2 separate regions of the Homo sapiens genome follow, and region 2 is linked to region 1. Evidence: promoter capture Hi-C in human tissues and cell types (Jung and others, 2019). All regions are on one chromosome and are shown on one strand. The core of a region is centred on a gene start or on the middle of the fragment in contact, and the rest is flanking DNA. Distances in the headings are between cores, read along the strand shown.

Region 1 (4,371 bases), core at 610-3,109:
TGCAGTTCGCCTTATGTGTTAGCTCCACATGAGGCCAACCTGGTTCTCGAGCTGCTTTGGCTACTGGAGCCTCAATCCCTTAAGAGGTTGATCTAGGGTCCCCCCTCTGTCTTGCCAGTTGTCCCCCTCCACAGGCCGCAGCCCCGATGAGAATATCCACAACCTCTAATAATAGAAGCCAAAATCCAATGGACAGAGAGCACTGTGGTGTACCAGTAGGTGGTCCCATCAAGGGACTCACAGCCACCATTCAATTCAAGGTAGTTGTGTCCATTATCCAGGTGGAGAAATAAAAAATCAGACCAAGGGCAAGATTTGCCCAACTTCACCCTGCAGCCAGGGCCAGCATTGGACTGGAACCCAGACTCCTGATCTCCAGGCCAACCATCCCTCCTCTGAGCCCTCACCGCCCAGGCTGGCATGAACCCTTTCATATCCGAGTGCTCTGTGTCTCCACTGCGATTTTGCTCTTGAGGGTGGAGAGTGAGTCTAATCTTCTTGCTTACTGGCAGGCAGCATGGCTGAGTGGGGAGGAGCATGGGTGTTGCATCTGCCATTCATTAGCCTTGGAATGTTTTGAACCTCAGCTTTCTTATCTATGAAATGGGGATCATGACAGTATCACCTTTCCATGGCTGTTGTGGGTATTAAATGAGATAACACAGCTAAAGCATTTAGCAGAGGGCTTGGGACATAATCCACACCAAGTAAGCATTAGTTGCTTATATCCATTCCCATGCCATCTCCTCTGCAAGGCTAACTCACTTGGCAAGAGGTGACCCATCCTCTAGAGTGGAACTGAATCAAACACAGGAACTGACCACAGAGCCACGGCCCACTGTGGCTACTTGGTGCTTCAGGAAGAGAGGTTTCTAGTGTTTACCTGGCTTCAGAGCTGTCCAGGTCTCAGCCAACTTCAGCGGTGCCTCTTCTCACTCCAAGATCTCACACTATGTGCCGGGTGGTAATCTTAATAAAAAGCGACCATTGAGGGTTTACCCAGTGCCCTGCGATAAGCTCTGCACAGATGGGTTAGTCTGCCCTGAACCGCCTCACTCCCACTGAGGGCTTTCGGAGGCAGAGCCTGGTTCATGACCCCCACATCTCATCACAGGGCCTGGTGTGATGCCTCACCCAAGACTGTGCTCCTTCATTCATCCAGCGTTTATTGGCATCTCCTACTACCTGAGCTGTTTTAGGCAGGGAACAAAGCACAGATAAGCCCTCCTGGAGCTTACATTCTGATGAAGGGGGCAGGCAAGGTATACATAGGGAGGAAAGCCCTGGAATCCAGTACATTAAAAACTTTTATTAGGATTATCTCTGCTGCATTTAGTTGTATGTATCCCTTATGGCCCCCAGGCAGGTCCACTCCTGGGCATTCAAGTCGGTCCATGTGTCAGGCGTGCAGGGTGGGTCACAGCATCTAGGAGCTCAGTGCAGCTTGGGACTTTGGGACATACGCTCCACCTCTCTGAGCCTCAGTCTCCTTGTCCATCATATAAGGAAATCACTGATTCCAGCCTTCCTGGGCTGTGGAGAGGATTCCCTCAGCGGCTGTGAAAGAGTGCTTTCTTGCGGGTCAGCCCCGACAGGACAGACTTAAGGGCGGGAGGGAGCCCATCCCGCTTGCCCCAACGAACGCGGGCGCGGGGCTTTCCTCGCAGGTTACATAAGGCAGCCGCGGGTGGAGGCAGCAGAGGCGAGCGCACGTCCGTCGAGGGGGAAAGGGGCGTGGGGAGGCGGCCGGGGCGGCCGGTATCCCCCGGGCGTGAGTGCGCAGCGCGCGGGGGAGCGCAGGGCGCGGCGGAGTCGGGTTTCAGAGCGCGGGTGACTCGGGGCGCGGGCCGGGAGCCGGGATTCTGCCCGCCGCCGCCGCTGCCGAGCGCCGCCTTTGTTCCCTGCAGGAAGGGCGAGCGCGGCGGCCAGCGCTCAGCGACCCTTCGTCCTCCGCTAAGCTCCAACGCTCTGCTCGACTAGCCGCGCGCCTTCCGGGGCTCCGCAGACCCGCGAGATGGCACCAAGGTAAGACCCGCTTCTCTGCTTCCTCGCGTCCCGGGCCCCTCCAATACTCTTGCCCGCCTCACCTTTTCTCCCTCGGGCACATCTTGCAGGAGGAACAACGGGCAGTGCTGGTGTCTGCTGATGCTGCTCTCGGTCTCCACGCCCCTCCCTGCTGTCACCCAGACCCGCGGTGCGACAGGTAAGCAACCCGGTCGGAGGGTGGCACCGGCTGCCTCCGCGCCCGTGGGGGAAGTCGGTTTTGGCGGCGGACGCGGCTGCGATGCGTGCCTCATTCCTGGACATAAAAGGGAGTCTTGCCACTCAGTGCGCACTGGCGGTCCCGCGGGCGGCTACCTCCTGGCAGTGCAGGGGTTATAGCTGTGAATGGGATCCCTGGGCAGCTGGGGCGGTTGGAGCGTTGTCTGGGCACCCGAGATGTCTGAGCTGGGTGCGGAGCCTCCAATCTTAGGCAGAGAGGGACTTCAGAAACAGCGCCAGCGCCAGCGCCAACAGCCTCAGCGCACCCAGCGCCAGCAGCTTAGGTTGTGCGTGCTGGCTGGCTTCTGGTAAGGGCAGGTCTGGTGCCTCTCCGCACACAGGTGCGAAGCATGAACACCGGGAGGGACATCTGGGGCTTTTGCTGCTCAAGAAATAACGGAACTGAATTGCTCGGTTGCTTAACCCAGCTCTGAGTTACCTAAGCGGTCACGTCTATCATGGGCAGTGGCTCCACCGGTGGTGGAAAGAGCTGTGGCCTGGAAGCCAGAGATCTGATCCCTTCCGTTCCCCGGGCCTCAGTTTCTCCAGCAGAACTCAGGCGGTTGGCTGAATAGTAAGATATAAGTTAAAGTAGACCTAAGTTAAAATGGGCCTCGGTTAAGGTCAGACTGCCTGGGTTTGAACTGTGGCTGGCTGAGTGATCTTGGGCAATGGATTTCATCGCTCTGTGCCTCAGTTTCCCCATCTGAAAAAGGCGATTAATTAGACCATTTTACCTTCCTAGAAATGTTGTGAATATTAGAGAAATTAGAAATAATGTGCTTCCCATGATTCCAGTATATACTAGGCACAAAATAAGTGATAGAAATTACTGCTTGATTCTTGCAGTAACTATGTGTTGGAAAGCAATGCAAGTATTTTTATTTTTATTTTAGATTCAGGGAGTGGTCATGTGTGGTTTTTTACAAGGGTATATTGCACGGTGCTGAGGTTTGGGCTTCTATTAATCCCATCGCAATGCAGGTATTTTTATAACATTGAGGTTGAGAGAAGCTTAGAAAGTGGCCAGTCCAAAAGCCAGGACTTGAATCCAGGTCTGTAGGCTCTTGCCCTTGCTCAGCTCTTTCTCCATGCAGTTTTGCAGAAGAGCCATGCTTTCTATAGCTTCTGACCCCCTCCCCTTTGAATTTGGGGGATTAGTACACATCTTCAATTGAATAAGGGAACAGAAAGTCTAGGAAACAACCTCTAGTCGGCCCAAAGGAAACGGGATTGAGAAGGTGGCCTTGGTTAACTCTTTGTTTGCCTGAAGAAGCCCAAGACAGCCCATTGTCTCCTGGGCAACAAGACCCAAATCCGATGATAGCTTTTCCTGCCAGAGTGTCCAGCCTGGCATTTATTGCAGATCAAAGGGCAGCTGGAGTATAGTTTTAGCTTCTCAGCCCCATGGCTCATGTCAGAAAGTTGCAATTTTGCATATGATATAGGGCCCTGCCAACTCAGTGGCAGAGGCCAACTTTGGGTTCCATGGTCTTTTGTGAACTTTGCTGCAACTTCCAGTTTCCCAAAAGGAAGATGGATCTGGGGATAGGAACTTTGGTGTTTCTTTCTCCTCCTGTGTGTGTCTCTGGGATCCCTCAGTGTCAGGGCTGTTGTTTCTAACACAAAGGAAGCCCTATTCCCATTTATAATGTAAAAAGGGAGGGCCAGCAAACCTTCAGGAGCTGAGAACGGTCTAAGGAGGGCCATTTGCAACTGATGGGTTTTCAGTGCCCCTTTGGGGATGTGAAACGATTCCTAAAAATGTAAACTATCCTCCTGCAAACTGCATTTGTAATGCAATTTAATATCCCTAATACTTATAAAACACTTTGTATATCCAGGTGGAGGTGTGAACATGTTCATATTTCATTCATCCAATCCTTACAACCACTCCAGGAGGTGAGGACTGAGAACAGTTACTATCTCTGTTTTTCAGATGAAGAAACAGAGGTCCAAAGTCACAAGACTTCTAAGTGGCTGGGGTGGGATTTGAACCAGACAGTCTGACTCCAGAGTCCTTGCTCTTAACCATCCTAGTGTGTAGTTAGAAGAGCTTCACGGATGGAGAAGGCTTTAGGGGTTCCATGGTCTCCAATGAGCCCCACA
Region 2 (4,371 bases), core at 1,164-3,663, 180 kb after region 1:
CTGCACCTCATAGCCCACACTGTACCTGGCATATAGAGATGCTTAGTGAATAATTGCAGAATTAAATGAAAGAGTCAAGGTGATGTGTTGCAGAGTGAGGAGAACTTGGGCTTTGGGCTGGCGGAAGGAGGTGTCTTCGTTTACGTTTTTTAGATTGAAATTTTGCCATGTATATGCGTTTAAAAATTTAAAACCTAGTTGAATAAAAGGTTGGGGGGGGCAGTATCCAGGGGCCAAATCTATCTATTAATAAAATAAATTTGAATTTTTTAAAAAAATGGCAATTAAAACTCATGTTCATGGAAAAAATTAAGTTCTTATTTTAGTTTTTCCCTAAACGATCTTGCCGTATCACATAACAGCAGTCTTGTAGTCAATCAAGACTGACTTCAAGTGGTGAAATGGAATTTTTTAATTCCCTGAAGAGAGAAATCTTTACCTAGTTAAGCTTTGTGTTATCTTGATGTTTTTATTTGTCTAGTGACCTCTTCTGATTGAAAGAGTAGTTAAGAAAAACCCTTTAGTACTGACTTTTTCAAATTTACCGTAATGTAATGACCTCTTTGAAAGGAGAAGTACAGAGTGTATTTTTCATAATGTTACTTAAATTCTGTAGACATGAAACTAGATATAAAACCCTTATGTTCTTGGCTCATACACCACTATAAACCAAATCTGCAAATTAAATACAAAGACAACTACAAAAAAAAACAAAATTCAAATGAATACAATTATTCCATGTGACAGATGATGTTTAGGTTTTGCAGTAGAAAAAAATAGCTTTAGGTCTAATTCCATTTTAAATGTGTTTCTGTATTTTAACTTCAGTGATAATAAAAGCTGTGAGTAGTGCCTCTTCTCATCAGTAATGTTATGCAGGAGGGCATTAATGACTTCAAGGCCTTGTTGGTAAGTTCAGGATGAGACATCATACCTAACCAAAACACTTGACAGCAAGCATTCCTCAAATACAGGCTTATAAGTTTTACTGAGATGTCATCCATTTTGTTCATTGGAAGATAAGGTTAATATCTTGACATTATTGAAATCTTCATTAAATGATTTTCTAAACCAGTTATTGCTGGAAATGAGAATGGAAAAACATTGCATACCTACAATTATATTTACTGCTAACAAATGTTTGCAAATTGTACTACACATGTAGGACCCATATAGCACTTGCATATAATAAAGTACATATATGGTATTGGCTGTTAGGCTATTGGCTTTTGAATATGCATGCCATGCCTGTATTGCCATATGGTCGATTCAAATTCCCTTTATTTTTTACTCTTTCTTTTACAATGACCATGAAACTTATGCTGTGTGTAGTGTGCCACAAGGACATTTGGCCTGAAGGGGATCTTCACACAGCTGAAGAAGCAGCAGTGAAAGCCTAGTGCCAGTGTTGAGACAGTGGCTACTCATGATCTTGAATGTTTATCCTTGTTTTTAGATTATCTTTGAAGTGAAAATATGTTCTCAAACCTTGTACCCAACTTATACATCCTTTTTTTCTCCCAGCATATTTGGGAGACATTGTTTTAGCAAATATTTTTCTGATCACTATCTAAGGAGCCAGGATTCAGAGATGTGAAAAACAAAACAAGCTTGGCCCTTCCTGAGGCAATGAAAGACCCTTTAACAGCAAGCTATAAATAGATTGATTTGTGCTGTTCTAAAGGTATGCAAAGAGCACTATGGAACATATTGAAAGGAGATACCAATTATTGTGAAGGTAAGGGCGAGGTTTAGAGCACATAATGGCAAAGATCCTGTTGAAATAGGGTCTTAAAGGATGAGTCAGATAAGAAGATAGGTTTAAACTAGACAGAGAGATGGTATATGTAAAGACCAAGGTCATGAAAGACATTATTATTATAATGGTGAGAGGTGTGTGGCCCTAGATAGCATTTGCCATGTGAGAAGTAAATTGGAACCCCAAACTAAAAGTCTTGTTAGGCTAGGTGTTTAGCCCTTATCTCATCAGCATAGGGGAGCCATGGTGATCTGAGAACTGGGAGAGTATTCAGGGCAATATTTTTTATGTATAGCGGTTACCACATTGTATTACAGTGTTCTCCTTCACTTGTCATTGGAGCTCTTCAAGTGCTGTGACCATTAGTTATTAATCTTTGTGTGCTAAGCTTTTGGTAGAGTAACTGATAAAAGTAATGCTTAGAAAACATGGGTTGAATGACTAATCATGAGTAAAGAGGATTTAGGAGAGAATTATGACAATGTCCTTCGGTGGTAGTTTTAATGCTTTGTGGGTCACAGACTCCATTGTGATTGACTTGGAAAGCTTTTCCTTGAAAATGTAAATACATATAACATTTGGCTTATAGTTTTATGGGATTCATGTACCTCTGAAGCCAGTCCATGAATTCCTGGTTCAGAATTCCTCCTTAGGAAATCATACCCAGACAGCCATCACCATCACACCTTGTCATGAATAATTACTGTCTCTTTTAGCAGTCTTTATTACGATTGTGTCTCTTTCTTGTCATTTCCTTGAGTTTCTTTCATACTTAGGAAGCAAATAGCTGACCTGTCTATGAATAAAGAAAGCGTTTTTAATAATGATTAAGGTAAAACTTTACTGGTCTGTAAAGATAATAGACAAGTATGTGAATTAAGCCAGCAACCAAGAAACAGCTACTTGAGGGAGAACCTGACATTCCTGAATTTGAGTTGAGCAAGTGAGTTGGGAGTCTGCAGGGCCATCCTCAGACTTGGTTTGCTAGAAGGACTCACAGGACTCAGAAAAGCTGTTACAGTCATGGTTATAGTGTATTACAGCAAAACCATACAGTTAACATCAGCAAAAGCAAAAGGCACCCGGGGTGAAGTCTAGGAGAAATCAGACACAGGTTTCCAGGTGTCCCATTCCAGTGGCATAGCATAGATGGCCTTAATTCTCTCAACAACAATGTGTGACAGCATGCACGAAGTTGTCAACCAGGGAAGTTCGCTTGAGCCTTGGTGTCCAGGGTTTTTACTGTTGGTCAGTCACTTAGGCTTGCAGCATCTGCATGACAGGCTTCAGCCCCTCAGACTTCTCCTACCCGGCCCCCCAGCAGTAATAGGTGTTCACTGTAAATCACATTGTTAGAATAAGCTGTCTGACAAAATTGGTACCATGTGACCCAAGGCCTCAGGCATACAGAAATATTCTTATCAGGGAGAATATTCCAAAGGTTCAGAGCTCATCTACCAGGAGCCAGCCAAGGCCAGTTTTGAAGACAAGTCTTTCTTGGGAATATGCAGGGTTTGAGCAACTCAGTCCTGCTGAGTTAACCCTTTCTTGTACAGCAAGTTAGCTCTTCAGGGAGTTAGCTCTGTCTATCCTGCCCCTGTCTGCCTAGCCACTCCTTTTCTAGGTAGAGTGGACCTTGCTGTTCACGTCATAGATGGCCATTCCGTGTACCTAGACTCCTTTTTATTCCTTTGCCAACAAGTAATTGGAATGTTTGGATTTAAGAACATGTCTGTGCTTTGCAATTTCATGTGACCATGGTGAAATTATGCACACATTCTATCATTGTGATTCAACAAGTATTTTTTGAATGCTGCTGTGCATGAGGCATGGTGTTAGATGGCAGATTGACAGAAATGACTAATACAGGTATCTGGCCTCAAGGAGTTTACAGTTTCATAGGAGAAAGAAAAACAAAACTAGCAATTCTGGTAAGCAGTATGTGTTTTGGAGAGCACTTAACTTCATCAGAGAGCATGGTTGAAGGTGTATCTGTGTGTATGAGAAGGTGTTGGTGATAATTAGAAGGCTTCCCTAAAGAGGTCACTCCTGGGGTTGAGCCATAAAGATCAAGTAGATACAAGTGGGCATGAAGCTAGTATTTTGCTGCCAGTCATTTCTGTAGTTAGGTTGCCTATGTGGTTGGAGCATGTATGTATTGTTACAGGTGTAGTCTGCTTGGCTTCCCTAAGAGAATGCCCCAGTCCTGGCCAGAATATACATGTCTTTTTTAGGGTTTGCACCAAGGGGAATAGAGAGTGTCTGGCTCAGTACAAATCTGTTTCCGTTACTCCATTATCCAGAAAGCCACTGAAATGGCATTAGCCTACACTTAATGGGTGGTAGTGTTTTCACACATTGCTTCTCAAAGGAGGAGTATGTGAATGTTTAGTTTGGGCCTGGTAAAAAAAAAAAAAAAAAAAAAAAAGTATAACCATTACAAATTTAAATGTACTTTGTTTCTAATGGGAAGGCAAATGCTTGCCTTGCTTTGATGAAATTGAACATAACAAAATTTTTCTATACTTGGAAGCAAAAAACTTCAGGAAAAAACCTGGGTCCAAATGTTGCTACATTTCCTTGGGCTTCCACGTGTATGTGGTTCTTAATAT

The links. Contacts are between HindIII fragments. The study calls those that stand out against the background at their distance.
Region 2: a fragment that was not itself captured here is called in contact with the fragment with the promoter of COL15A1 in region 1 in 9 of the 25 tissues and cell types used here (H1 embryonic stem cells, IMR-90 fibroblasts, adrenal gland and 6 more).

What each region holds. Positions count from the first base shown.
Region 1 is chr9:98,942,048-98,946,418 of GRCh38, forward strand. It overlaps COL15A1 (collagen type XV alpha 1 chain), which reads left to right and starts at 1,860. Exons shown (of 42, transcript NM_001855.5): 1 at 1,860-2,025; 2 at 2,115-2,203. The coding sequence starts at 2,015. It overlaps COL15A1-AS1 (COL15A1 antisense RNA 1), which reads right to left and starts at 2,605. Exons shown (of 1, transcript NR_198999.1): 1 at 1-2,605. The HindIII fragment of the contact is 13,688 bases long and covers 1-4,371 here.
Region 2 is chr9:99,124,313-99,128,683 of GRCh38, forward strand. All of the region lies in intron 1 of TGFBR1 (transforming growth factor beta receptor 1), which reads left to right. Among named protein-coding and RNA genes, the nearest start is that of TGFBR1, 21 kb to the left of the region's middle. The HindIII fragment of the contact is 6,051 bases long and covers 1-4,371 here.